2 separate regions of the Homo sapiens genome follow, and region 1 is linked to region 2. The links are contacts of gene promoters, found by promoter capture Hi-C in blood cells and fetal thymus (Javierre and others, 2016). All regions are on one chromosome and are shown on one strand. The core of a region is centred on a gene start or on the middle of the fragment in contact, and the rest is flanking DNA. Distances in the headings are between cores, read along the strand shown. Region 1 overlaps MYCBP2 (MYC binding protein 2). Region 2 holds the start of SCEL (sciellin).

Region 1 (6,653 bases), core at 2,315-4,814, 260 kb before region 2:
ATGTAGAATTGTATATATGGCCCTGCAAAAAAAACAAAAGTTAGTATATCAGTGGTTTCATAATTAATAATCAATGAAAAATAATACAAATGGGTGAATGACATTTAATGCATGTATTTCAATTATGGTTTTCAAATAAATATTATTACACTAAAATTAGATCATATTCTAGAAATGAAACTAGAAACACACAGAACACAATTCATTATGGTTATAACTCTGTATAATTAAGGAACTGTAAGGAATCACATTACCCTAACTGTTCCACTGTATCCAGAGCCTATTTTATATAATCCATCCTTGCATAATAGATAAAGAAAAAATCCATCATTCTGAAGTAGACATTGGTCATCTTCATCAACAGATATTTCTTTTAATGGCCACTTGTGCATTAAAGCTGCTTTCTTAATGCCATTACTAAACCAGTCCTGAATTTGAATTTTTCCCACCAAAACTGCTTGTACACTTCTCTGTAGCGAATTTAGAATTGTTGGCACCTAATCAAAAGAGAAGAAAAATAATGAAAAAACATTTTTAAATGTTACAAACACAGAACAAAGATACTTTGGTAATACATCATCATTCATAAGACAATAAATTGTTCAGAATGATATTTCGCATGCCAGCAAAAAGTACCAACTAAAAGTTCATCTATAAGAAGCAAATCTCAAGCAAGGTAGACTTCCTTACTCTTGGGATTCCATGTCATTCACCAATTCTGTAAAATCTTAGCCATTATTTCAAGTACTCTATCTCCACAAATCTATTATTGCCTTGTGGAACTCAGATTGTATTACATTAGATTTTGTCATTCTCGATCCATGTTTCTTATTTTATCTTCCATATTTCTCTCCTTGTCTCTCTGTTGCATTCTAGATAATTTCTTCCTCTTTATCTTTCAGTTCACCATTTCCATCTTCAACCATATTATACAATAGTTAACCCATTTTAAGTTTCTAATTGTAATTATTTGGTTTTTCATTTCTAGGAGTTCGATTTGTTTTTTTTCCTAATGTCTGACTACTTTTTATATTCTCACTACTTAATCATACTTTTGATATTTTCTTTTATTACTTTAACCATACTTTATATATTCATACACATACACATTCTATATCAAATAATTTCAATATCTAAGGACTTGGCAGGATTGATTCTACCATATTTGTTTCTGCTAATTCTCAATAATGGTGCCTTTTTCCATGTGCTTTTTTTATTAATTTGTTTCTGAGCTCAAATGCAATAAATAGTGTTTTATTTGCAGAAAGCCTTTGAAGTCAAGAGTTCAACCCTCCAGAAAGGATTTCAGTGTCTTTCAATACAGCATCTTGCAGTACTACCATGTCTACCCTGCTTTAAACTCTCTGTTAAGCTTTATGAAATGGACAAGTAGTATGCATTTGGGTGCCAAAACAAATCTGAGATGTGAAGAGTTACACATACTCATATGGTTTGGTTGTGTTCCCACTCAAATCTCATCTTGAATTCCCACGTGTTGTGGAAGGGACCCAGTGGGAGGTAACTGGATCATGGGGGCAAGTCTTTCCTGTGCTGTTCTCATGATAGCGAATAAGCCTCACGAGATCTGATGGTTTTATAAAGAGGAATTTCCCTGAACAAGCTCTCTTTGCCTGCTGCCATCCACGTAAGACATGACTTGCTCCTCCTTGCCTTCCACCATGATTGTGAGGTTTCTCCAGCCATGTGGAACTATAAATCCATTAAACCTCTTTCTTTTGTAAATTGCCCAGTCTCGGGTACATCTCTATCAGCAGCGTGAAAACGGACTTAATGCACACATTCTCAGGGAAAGCTTTTCTCCCTCTACCAACAGTCAGGCCAGGAGAGTTTTGGGAAATGAAGTTGGTAGATAAAAGGCCAAATCATGAAGAGCACTGCAAGCCATGTTAAGGTAATGGGCTTTAATATGGAGTTTAGGCTAGAGTTGGGGATGTGGTGATGTGGCAGGTCTGTAGAGAACTGCAGCTATTGATTCAGAGGATCAAGTAGTTTTGTGTTGTCTAGTGATTGAGCATAAATATTGGAGACAGATAAGCCCTCGAGTCCTGTCTCTGTTATTTGCCAGCTCTGTATGCTGTGGCTACGCTATTTGACAGCTCTCTATGCTATAGCTATACTAAACTTCTTTCAGCTTTCAAATATTTCACTCTTACTCTCACCTCCATGCCTTAGCATGTGGATACCTAGAACATTCTCTCTCTACACCACCAACACCAAAAATTTCTCCTGGCTGATTTCAACTCATTAGTTTAGATCTCACCTCATATCCTCTGGGAGGCTTTCCATGAACGTAGTTCTTATACTCCTGCTATGAGCTCTAATGGCATTCCTAAGTCTCTATATAAAAGCAAATCATATCAAAATTCATAAGCTCATATGTTGGTGGTCACTATCCTATTAAAATCTGGTATATGGTATCTGAATGTTTGTGTTACTTTATTACAATTTTTAAAATATTTGCATATTTTAAACATATATTTAAATTAAACATTTGCCAAACCCTGAAAGCATGTCTACAGAACACAGCTTGAAAACCACTGTATTAGAGCAACTTCAAAATAATTAAGGACCATAAAAAGGGACAAAAGGATTCCAAGCAAGGCAGAAAGGAAGAAAAGAGCAGAAATCTTGAGTAAGGGAATGGGTCTTGTTTGACCAGGAGAGTTCAAAATCACTGAATAAGACAGAAAATGACCAATATACTCCTTTTGCTATCTTTGGTCTGCTAATAACAGGATTGAGGCATCCCTTCCACCTGCCCTAGGGTTGCCCAAGGGGCCAGAGAAGAGTAGACAGTCAGGTCTTAAGATCATAACTTCTTTCTCAATTTCCAGAGCCTTCCCAAATAATTAAGTCAAGTTTGCCTATAAGGATTATTTTTCCCACCACTAAAATGGTGATGAGCTTGTTTGTTCCACAACTGAATATTAAAAGCCTAAAATGTTTTATACACAGCTGAAGTAACTCAGAAACGAATCAATTCATAAAAAAATCATAATCAACCAATCAAAAATATATCAGATTGATACCATATCTTTTTCTTTCAATAGAGAAAAGATATTTAAAACCATGAATGAATTCCATACTAAAAAACTCAGGGAAAGATGGGAAGAAGGGAGAACGCAGACAGCAAGAAAACAGCAAGGAAAGAGAAGGCTATGGTGTTAAGGCAAAGACCAGCTTAAAGATTTAAGAGGTCTGGCCAAAATTCATTTTATTATATTTAAAGCTTCAGAGTTAAACATACATATCACTTAATTGAAATACTGTAGATTATTTATGTATCAATCTTGGACAGATTAAGCTACTGTAATGAGTGAGAAAAAGCAGAATTCCTATTGACAGAAATTGAGACGAAACTGTAACTTGTCATCTTATAAACTTCTAAGCAGATATAAATATGAAATACCTGAATAGTTTGGCAAGCATGGCTTCCATTGTTGGTGAGGATAGCAGAGATGGCCTGAAGTGTCCTTCCTGTTTCTCCCCAAGAAGCCACCAGACTAAAGAGGCAAGCACAGGAAAGTGCTGTTAAGGACTGTCCTGTGCTGTCATTCATCCCAGTACTTCGAACGGTGATTTCCAAAAGAAGCTGGAAGAGAGACTCTGTGGATAAAATAGAATTCAATTATATTCATCCAACATACGGAACATTATATGCGTATATTTATTTATTTTTACTTTGTCTCATTATAAACGAAATTTAAGGAATCTAGAACAATTACTTTGCTTTAGTTTCTTTCTAGTTACTCTCTTCCCCAAAAGTTAAAATATTTATGTAACAAGGGTCTTAAAGAACATTCAGTTCAACTCCTTATTTTTCTTAGTAAAAAAAGACAATCTAAGGTCTTTTAAAACAAGCTTGCCTAGAGGCATTCACATATTCAAGAAACTCATCCTATCAAGTAATAGACTACTTGTCATACTTATTTTACCTTTTAGATTAGGAGGCTTCTTAAAATGTTAAGTGTCCAGGAAATTATGTATATATTTTCAAAGTAATAGAAACATAAAACATATGCAATAATGTGCTTTAATATAAAATTGGCTATATCATTAACATAATAGCAATTCACACTTAGGATGTAATTCATTTATACCCTAGAAAAACCTCCAAGTCAATAGGACAGATATTCTCCCCCTTTAATAATGAAATTGAGATATGTGGTATCAAAAGATTTTTCCTAAATCATAAAGTCATTTAGTGGTGAAGATGAAACACACACACACACAAATGTTTTACAACCAGCAGAGGTCTCTGCACAAAATTCCCTGAACACCTCCATCTAAGATTCAATCAACAGACATCTGGGTATTTCTTCCATAGAACGGAGACTTGAAAATCCTTATAGAGTGAATAATCAGATGGAGAGGGAAAAAGAGAGTTAGAAAAAGAAAAACTGAGAAACATGAAGAGAGGGAAAGGGAAGGGAGAGAAGGAGGAGAACAAGAGAAAGAGGAGTAATGTACTGCAATTCTCTAAAAACTAAAATGCCACCTGTGGGTTATCTGGTAACTTACAGAAACCCAGGCAGCCCCTACCAATCCCTCATCTTCCATAGCTAATCCCAAATTAAGTCCTGTTTATTTTACTTCCTAATGGATAACTCCACTTTTCCCTATCTCATCATCATCTTTCCAATCCATGCTATCATCATCTCTTTGATAAAAAGTGTTAAGAAATTATCTCTTACCATTCGCTTTTGCCCCAATAGCCAGGGAGAATTTCAAACCAAAAATCTGATTGTCTACTTAAAATTCTTTCACTCCTTTGTTAATTTCTTCCTCCCTTCTGTCTTCTTTTCTTTCCCCCTTCCTCTCTTCACTTGTCTGTACACATCCTATACTTCCATTTTTTTCCATTTATCCTTTCCTCTACCTTTTCCTCCAGCTATCCTTCCTTCCCTCCATCCTTTCATCTATCCCTGTTTGTCCATATTTCCATCTACCCATCCTTCCTCCAATTATTATCCTTCAGTGAGTACATCTGTTGATTATTCAGCAAATATATACCGAACTCTCACACACTGGCAACTATTCTACACTAGGGTATTGGCAAACATGACAAAGAATGTCTCTACCCTTTCAAAAAGGTTAAGAATCCAGGGAAAGAAAATAGTCAATAGTTTAAACAAATAATTTAAGAAAATAAGGCTATTTAAAAAACAATATTCTTCATGTAATGAAATAGAGAATGACTTTCCATTCCTCCTAGCCCACTAATCAAATTCTTTAACATGGCATGTAAAGCTCTGCATGTCCCTGCCTCCTTCCTCACCTGTCACAAGACTGTTTCCTTCACTCTCCACATTCTAGCCATATTGCTCTTCTTTTCATTCATTCTCCTTTCTGTCTCAGAGCCTTACTAAATGCTGTTATTTCTGCCTAGAGCACTTATAATCGAATTCACTCCCTCCTATTCACCCTCTAAATCTCATATGTCACATCTTCAGGGAGCCTGTTAAAGACTCTCAGAAGGAGCTGGGTGCAGCAGTGTGTACCTATAGTCACAGCTACTTGGGAGGTGGAGGCAGGAGGATCACTTGAGTCCAGGGTTTGAGGCTACCCTGGGCAATATAGTAAGATCCTGTCCCTAAAGATAAATAAATAAAAAATTTTTAAGTTAAAAAAGGAATCTTGGCCAGGCGCAGTGGCTCATGCCTGTAATCCTAGCATTTTGGGAGGCTGAGGTGGGCAAATCACCTGAGGTCAGGAGTTTGAGACCAGCCTGGCCAACATAGTGAAACCCTGTCTCTACTAAAAATACAAAAATTAGCCGGGCATTGTGGAACGCGCCTGTAGTCCAAGCTACTCAGGAAGCTGAGGCAGGAGAATAGCTTGAACCCAGGAGGTGGAAGTTGCAGTGAGCCAAGATCGCACCACTGCATTCCAGCCTGGGCAACAGAGCGAGACTCCGTCTCAAAAAACAAAAAAGGACTCTCAGAACTCCTTCTACTTTCCTCCATACGATTTATCCACATTTGTAATTATACACATATCCAACTCTCTGATGCTAAGTTCCATAATAACAGCAATAGTATCGCACATTCTTAGCACATAACAAAGGGGGTGCTATTACATTTCAGTGAGTACTCGAGAATATAATCTAATTGAACAGAATATATGGATATAAGGAAATATATTTTTAAATAGATAATTTAAAAATCAAAATCTATTTGCAAAGAGAAGAAGCTTGGTGTATACTAATCATCAAGATGTTCCACAGTAAGAGTTATATAAATATACACATATTTTCATGAATAACACGAAAACAACCGAATGGGAAAAAAAGGATAACCAATAAGATTGTGATATTAGATTAAAAAAAGGAGGAGAGGCAAGTTTCAAAAGAAATTTAGTATAAAAGAACCAAATCAGTGCTTTTATCTTTGAGCTAATTTAACAAAATAGAAAACATGAAGTGATAATAAATCCCTTACATAGAAAAATAAGCCAAAGCAGTGACGAGATCAGCAGTAAACACTGAAAGGATGGAAGACAGACGAAAGGCAGTACAGCAGAATTTGAAACTTTAAACAAGAAAATAAAAATGAACAGATTAATAAGGTGAAATATTTTTGGGTTTTGTGGGATTTTTTGGGGGTTTTTTTTTTGGTAGAGATGAGGTCTCA
Region 2 (6,205 bases), core at 2,519-5,018:
TTTGGAGGAAAAGGAAGACTTTTCATTTATTCCATTTTATACTTTTTAGTTTCCAAACAATGTTATATATTACTGGGTTCAAAATATAGCATAAATATACAAAAAAGAAAACTGCACACGCATGTTTATACCAGCTTTATTTATAATTGCCGAAACTTGGCAGCAACAAAGATGTCCTTCAGTAGGTGAAGTGAATAAATAAATAAACTGTGGTACATCCAGACAAAGGGATATTATTATTACTGTTATTTTATTTTATTTTTTTTTTAAGTCAGGATCTTAGTGTGTTGCCCAGGCTGGTCTTGAACTTCTGGCCTCAAGCAATCCTACCACCTCAGCTTCCCAAAGTGCTGGGATTATGGGTGTGACCTACCATGCCTGGCCTTGGAATATTATTTAACACTCAAAAGAAATGAACTATTAAGCCATGGAGAAAACTTAAATGGAAAGACATGACGAAAACTTCAATGCATATTACTATGTAAAAGAAGCCAGTCTGGAAAATGCTACATACTACATGATTCCAACAATACGACATTCTGCGAAAGGCAAAACTATGGAGACAGTAAAAAGAACAGCGGTTAACAGGGGCTGCAGGGAGGGAGGTATGACTAGGCAGCACACAAAGGATTTTTTAGGGCAGCAAAACTACTCTGTGTGGTACTATAATGGTGGATACATGTCATTAGGCATTTCTCCAAACTCAAAGAATATACAAAACCAAGAATGAACCCTGATGTAAACTATGGACTTCGGGTGTTAGTGATGCATCCATGCAGGTTCATTAATTGTAACAAATGTCCCACTGTGATGTGGGATGTTGGTAATGGGGACACTGAGGGTATACATGAACTCTTTGTTGTTTATTCTGAATTTTGCTGTGAACCTAAACTCAAAAAAACGGTGCTCATTTTGGCTGGTTGTTTCTTTGGATATAACACATAGACAAAGCAATGTGATGTTGCAACATCTAATTTTATGAGACAGGGTCAGAAAACATTCCCCCATTCAAGACCTGTGGTGGATATTGCTAATTAACCATGGACATTCCCTTGTTGAGTCCCTACTTGCTTACAAACCTCAACATATTCCTCCAGGAAGCCATCACCAATCAATTGGCATTTGTACCTGAGATAAAACCCATTTGGCATTTCAGCTTCTGAGCTTACAGTTCTAGAGAGATCTTAAGAACTCCAACACTGAAAGTGAATAGGTGTGGTGAAGCCAAGTTATTCCAAGCATGCCCAAGTCTTCCCAGTTAAACACCTGAGTGAAACTAATGCTCAGGCTATTTGGCTACCTCCACACCCGAAAACGTTCTTGATTCAACCTCTTCACATTTGAGATTTTAAATTTTAGGCAGTCATGTCTGCTCAGCATGAAGAGGTCTGAATTTTGCTCAATGGTTTAGAATTAGTCCCTTTTTATACTAGAGATTTGATTCTAAATGAAAAAACACTGGTTTGGCTTAGCAGTGTGGATGGTCTGATGTATAAAGTAAGAGAAACCCTTAATTGCATGCAGAAATAATTGCTTGGAAGCTCAAAATCCATAACTTGAGTAGCTGCACTTTACTTCATTATAAGATAAAAACTTATCTTTCTGGTTCTGTGTTTCATGAAGTAATATATTTCAACATTCTGTAATGTAAATTACAACTTATCCCTACAAGGGAGCTCTTAAACTGTTTTCTTTCTTTTTGGCTAAGTTCTAAGGCTGAAGATTGCTTCTAGTTTATCTTTTGAGTTAAGTCACGTCTTTGTTTTTCAGCTTTATCATTTGTAATATTAATATTCAAACCAAGATTTTTGGGCATCACAGAAACTTAAAGCATATTTTAAAAATATTTTGCATGTATAAAATTCCATAAAAAAGCTGAGTAGACACGTATATATGTTTTACTTTGAAAGAACATTTTCCATTTTAGATTTTCAAATTCCTCAGCCCAGAATAAGGGAACATCAGGGAACATACAGGAAGTGGTCTCCCAGTCACAATGACCACATACTGCAATTGCCTTGCTCTTCAGTCTGGGTTTCTGCTTCTTGTTACAGTCATTTCAGTGGGCGTCACTCAGCTGCATTGTAGTTTTCAGGAGCAGTTGTTCAGGGGGGATTTGGTTCATTGCTGGTGTGACATATGAATGACGATCACCCAGGAAGTTCTGATGACGTGGCTTCTCTCAACAATGTTTGCTAAGCTTCTTTAAAGCCTCTTTGGCTCTTAGGGAAGGTGTGTTTCAAAACCTGTAACAGGAGTCCCCGCCTAGAATGGCTCTTCAGTGTTACTCCTTCCTCCCAGCGGAAGCAGCCTTTGTTTTTTGTTGGGTTTTTTTTGTTTTTTTTGTCTGTTTGTTTTGTTTTTTGAGATAGGGTCTCACTCTGTCACCCATACTGGAATGCGGTGGTGTGATCACAGCTCACTGTGGCTTGGTCCTCCCATGCTCAAGAGACTCTCTTTGCCTCAGCCTCCTGAGTAACTGGGACCAAAGACATGCACTACCACACCCAGCTGATTTTTTTATTTTTAGTAGAGATGAGATCTTCTCTTACTGTGTTGCCCAGTTTGTCTCGAACTTCTTGGCTCAAGTGATCCTCCCACCTTGGCCTCCCAAAGTGCAAGTGAAAGCCACTGCAACTGGCCAGAAGCAGCCTTTGATGTTGGGTCTACTGCTGCCCTCAGCATTGAAAGAAGTTTCAACCATCCTTTTCACATTTTTTTTTTTTTTCTGAGACAGTCTCACTCTGTTGCCTAGGCTAGAGTGCAGTGGTGTGATCTTGGCTCACTGTAACCTCCACTTCCCTGGTTCAAGTGATTCTCCTGCCTCCTCCTGCCAGAGTGGATGAATGGTTCTTCTTCTTCTTGACCATCTAATCATTGTCCACTCAGACTTTAAAACTCTGCATCAACATCACCTTCCAGGTTCTTCCTTCTCTCCACTATGCGATGCCTGGCATTGAAAATTTCTGTATATGACTTTATCATGGTGTGTTATAGTTATTTAATATAGCTGGGGTTACAGGTGTGTGCCATCACGCCCAGCTAATTTTTATATTTTTAGTAGAGATCAGGTTTTACCATGTTGGCCAGGCTGATCTTGAACTGCTGACCTCAGGTGATCCGCCTGCTTCCACCGCCCAAAGTCCTGGGATTACAGATGTGAGCCACCACGCCTGGCCCCTTTTCACATTTTTTTATACATGGATAAATAAGATAGAGATTAGAATTCTTACATGCTAGGTGTATTTTCCCTCTGATAGTTTTACAAAATAGTCTAGGTGTAGAATGTGTGGAACAGACTTCTTTTGTGTTTTCTAATCCTAGGGTTCCTGGGTTTCTGAGAATTTGTTTGTCTTGAAGATTCCTTTAAGCCATATACTCCTTGCATGCTTGTCTGTGCCCCTGCCTTCCAGGTACTATGGGTGTATGGGGGTTCCTTCTATCTTGAGTTTTCAATTTTATTTTTTGAAAGAGAATACAAAATAGGTTGGGTCCTATGCCACCTTGTCAGTGATATGGTTGTGCATACTGTTGATATCAGTTAAAAGGGTGATCACAGGAGCATATATATATATATGTTTTTTTTTTTTTTGCATAAGGCCATAAGTTAAACAAAGAATTCAAACAAAGACAGTAGGTATATGAGTGAGAATGCTTTAATTGAACTGGTATTTGTACAAGGTGACACCCTGTTGCATACCACACACCTCCTCCCTGAGTGACTCAGCCGCTGAGCAAGAAACCTCTGAACTGTTCACTAATACAGTCAGGTAGAGGTTGAGACTCCACTGAATAAACTCTAGGTTCCCATTTCTTTCAGCCAGATCCTCCCAGGGAATCACTACAGGCTGGTTAGCCAAAAAGTCCTGATTTTCTGCTCAATAGAGGTAAGTTGAATTATACTTGCAAACAGAAATACATCTGCTGTATGTGCACAGCTTTCTCTGTGTTCCTTACAAATGATTAAAATTAGAACTTACTGTATTATCTTTGTCTTTTCTTCCTGTAAATTTTGACAGCCTCCAGCTGGCTGTTAGCTCTGCTCTTCCTTGCTGTACTTTTAGGTCACATTGCATTGAACTTCTTGGCAATTTTACACGTTATGGGCATCACAGAAACGAGCACCTATTTGATTTTCTGGGTGGGAGCTGTCAGCTGGTGAATCCTGCCACACAAAGGATAATAAATTCTTTAAGTGAAGGGACCAGCACCTGCTGGTTTATTTTCTCAAGCGACTATACAAACATTTTTTAAAGGATCTTTCTGTTTTCATAAATGATGCTTTTAGTGAAATAGTGAACTCAAATATTGCTTTATAGTTAATAAGTCATATTTATTTTTTTCTCTACTGCTAAAAATATTGCAAGTTGCTGAGCTATGAGAGAGAGAGAGGTTTATATTTATGAGGTTTTTGTCTCCACCCTATCTTCCCCAAATAAGAAAATCACCATTTCTCACTTGAAAGTACCAAGGAGTAAAGGCAGGGTGTGGGAGCAGAATAAGGGTACATGGTTCCTCACAGGGATCTGTGGGCATCTGGCCAACTTCTCTATGGTATATTCTGCATTCTAACCTAAGGAGTGATTAATGTATATGGGGGCAATTTTCAAACTTTATTCATAGCCTAGTCCTGAAAAACCAGTTTTGGGAGACTTTTGATAAGGCTAGAAGAGTTCTTTTAACAGAGCTTTCTTTTATAATTAATAGCTAAGCTGACTTGTGTTTTTTCTCATCATTTCTATTTATGATACAGAGCTGTGGGATTCAAATGCAGGGGCCACTCACAGCTTGCAAATTGCAGCTCTGTGTCCTCCAGAGAGGTGCCCCCACAGCATACCTGGCTCTATCTGTAGTACTTGAGTTCTCATGGCTTCCTATTGCTGACAAGGTCACCTGCAGTCTGAGAGGGGGTTAGACACACCAGTGCTCATTTCCCAAAGGTTTACAGAAGAATTTTACAACTTGGCTTTCAAGTGTTTATAGTAACCAGAAAACTAAAGTGTAGCAAGTGTGGATAATTTTATTTTTCATAAAATGTGATTACATTTAAAACTGTCTTTCACTTCCATAGTTTATAACGTAGATAAAGCCTTCCTAATATATGTGGTGCTCCAGTGTTTAAAGTATTGGAAACATCAATTTGAGAAAACTGAGAAATGACAACAGTAAAAATTTTAGTAAAACATTCAGATGATCCTAAATGTCGGGATATGCATAGAATGCCAACAACAGGCCAGAATTTTTATTGGAATGTTAGCGTCGTATAAATCTTAGATCTAATTGACAGAATATTTCAACTGAAACGGAGCATAGGCCCATCTAGTCTAATGCCTGAATTTTCTAGTTGAGAAAATCAAAGCATAAATGTTAAGCAACTTGTGAAGATCAGAGTAGCAGAACCAGAGCACGATGCCAGATTGCTTGTCTTTTGTCTTACTGAATTTTCTCAATATTTTTTCAAATGCTTTTTATCATAAAATATGTAGTAGCAATAAATGAGCCACACTCCATCACAGACTGTGGTTACCCAGCACATGTGGAAATATTATAGTGTGTATGGTATGACTAAGACATAATAGAATACGTTTTCCAACTTGTGGCTTATGGAATCAGTGTTGCCGTTTATTATATTTATGAGATTTTCATCTCAGGAGCCAGTAGCCCCTCAGCAGGGAGGGGATCTGATGTATGTGTGTTAGCTGTGGTCTGTACAATCAGAACACCCTTGCCTCGAATGCCATTCTGTAGGTGATGCTTACCTGACTGCCTTCTCAGACTACCAGAATTATGATGAAATACCTGAGAGGTTCATATTCCTGGGGACTATGTAAACAAAACAAATTTTGAATGACTGAGCTCATACTGTGGAATGAACTGAACACAATTCACGAAGCCGTCAAATTAAGCAAACATTGTTTAACTGAGAGTATCTTATACGGTTCAGGCATCAACTCCCAGCATTTCTTAAGAGTGAGGGGATAAAATCTTTGGCCTTGCAGTCCAAGGGAAATCTTTATTGGTTCCATATGGCTTCGCTTTCTGTCATTGTCCTGCTTCTAGACCATTTGTTGATCATTTTCCATTTTCTTTGGCTGGGTACTTTGAAATAAAGATTTTAGGTATTAATTGCTGCATACATAGCTGGAGTTGTTCAAAGCTCACTTCTGAATCAAAAGTCTTTTTTTTTTTTTTTTTTTTAAATGGA

The links. Contacts are between HindIII fragments. The CHiCAGO score rates a contact against its expected background, and 5 or more counts as called.
Region 1: a fragment that was not itself captured here is called in contact with the fragment with the promoter of SCEL in region 2 in 1 of 17 cell types (naive B cells); the score reaches 5.0 in naive B cells.

What each region holds. Positions count from the first base shown.
Region 1 is chr13:77,270,042-77,276,694 of GRCh38, forward strand. It overlaps MYCBP2 (MYC binding protein 2), which reads right to left. Exons shown (of 83, transcript NM_015057.5): 5 at 3,431-3,627; 6 at 255-497; 7 at 1-22. Among named protein-coding and RNA genes, the nearest start is that of MYCBP2, 54 kb to the right of the region's middle. The HindIII fragment of the contact is 632 bases long and covers 3,249-3,880 here.
Region 2 is chr13:77,531,938-77,538,142 of GRCh38, forward strand. It overlaps SCEL (sciellin), which reads left to right and starts at 3,769. Exons shown (of 33, transcript NM_144777.3): 1 at 3,769-3,887. The HindIII fragment of the contact is 4,847 bases long and covers 2,199-6,205 here.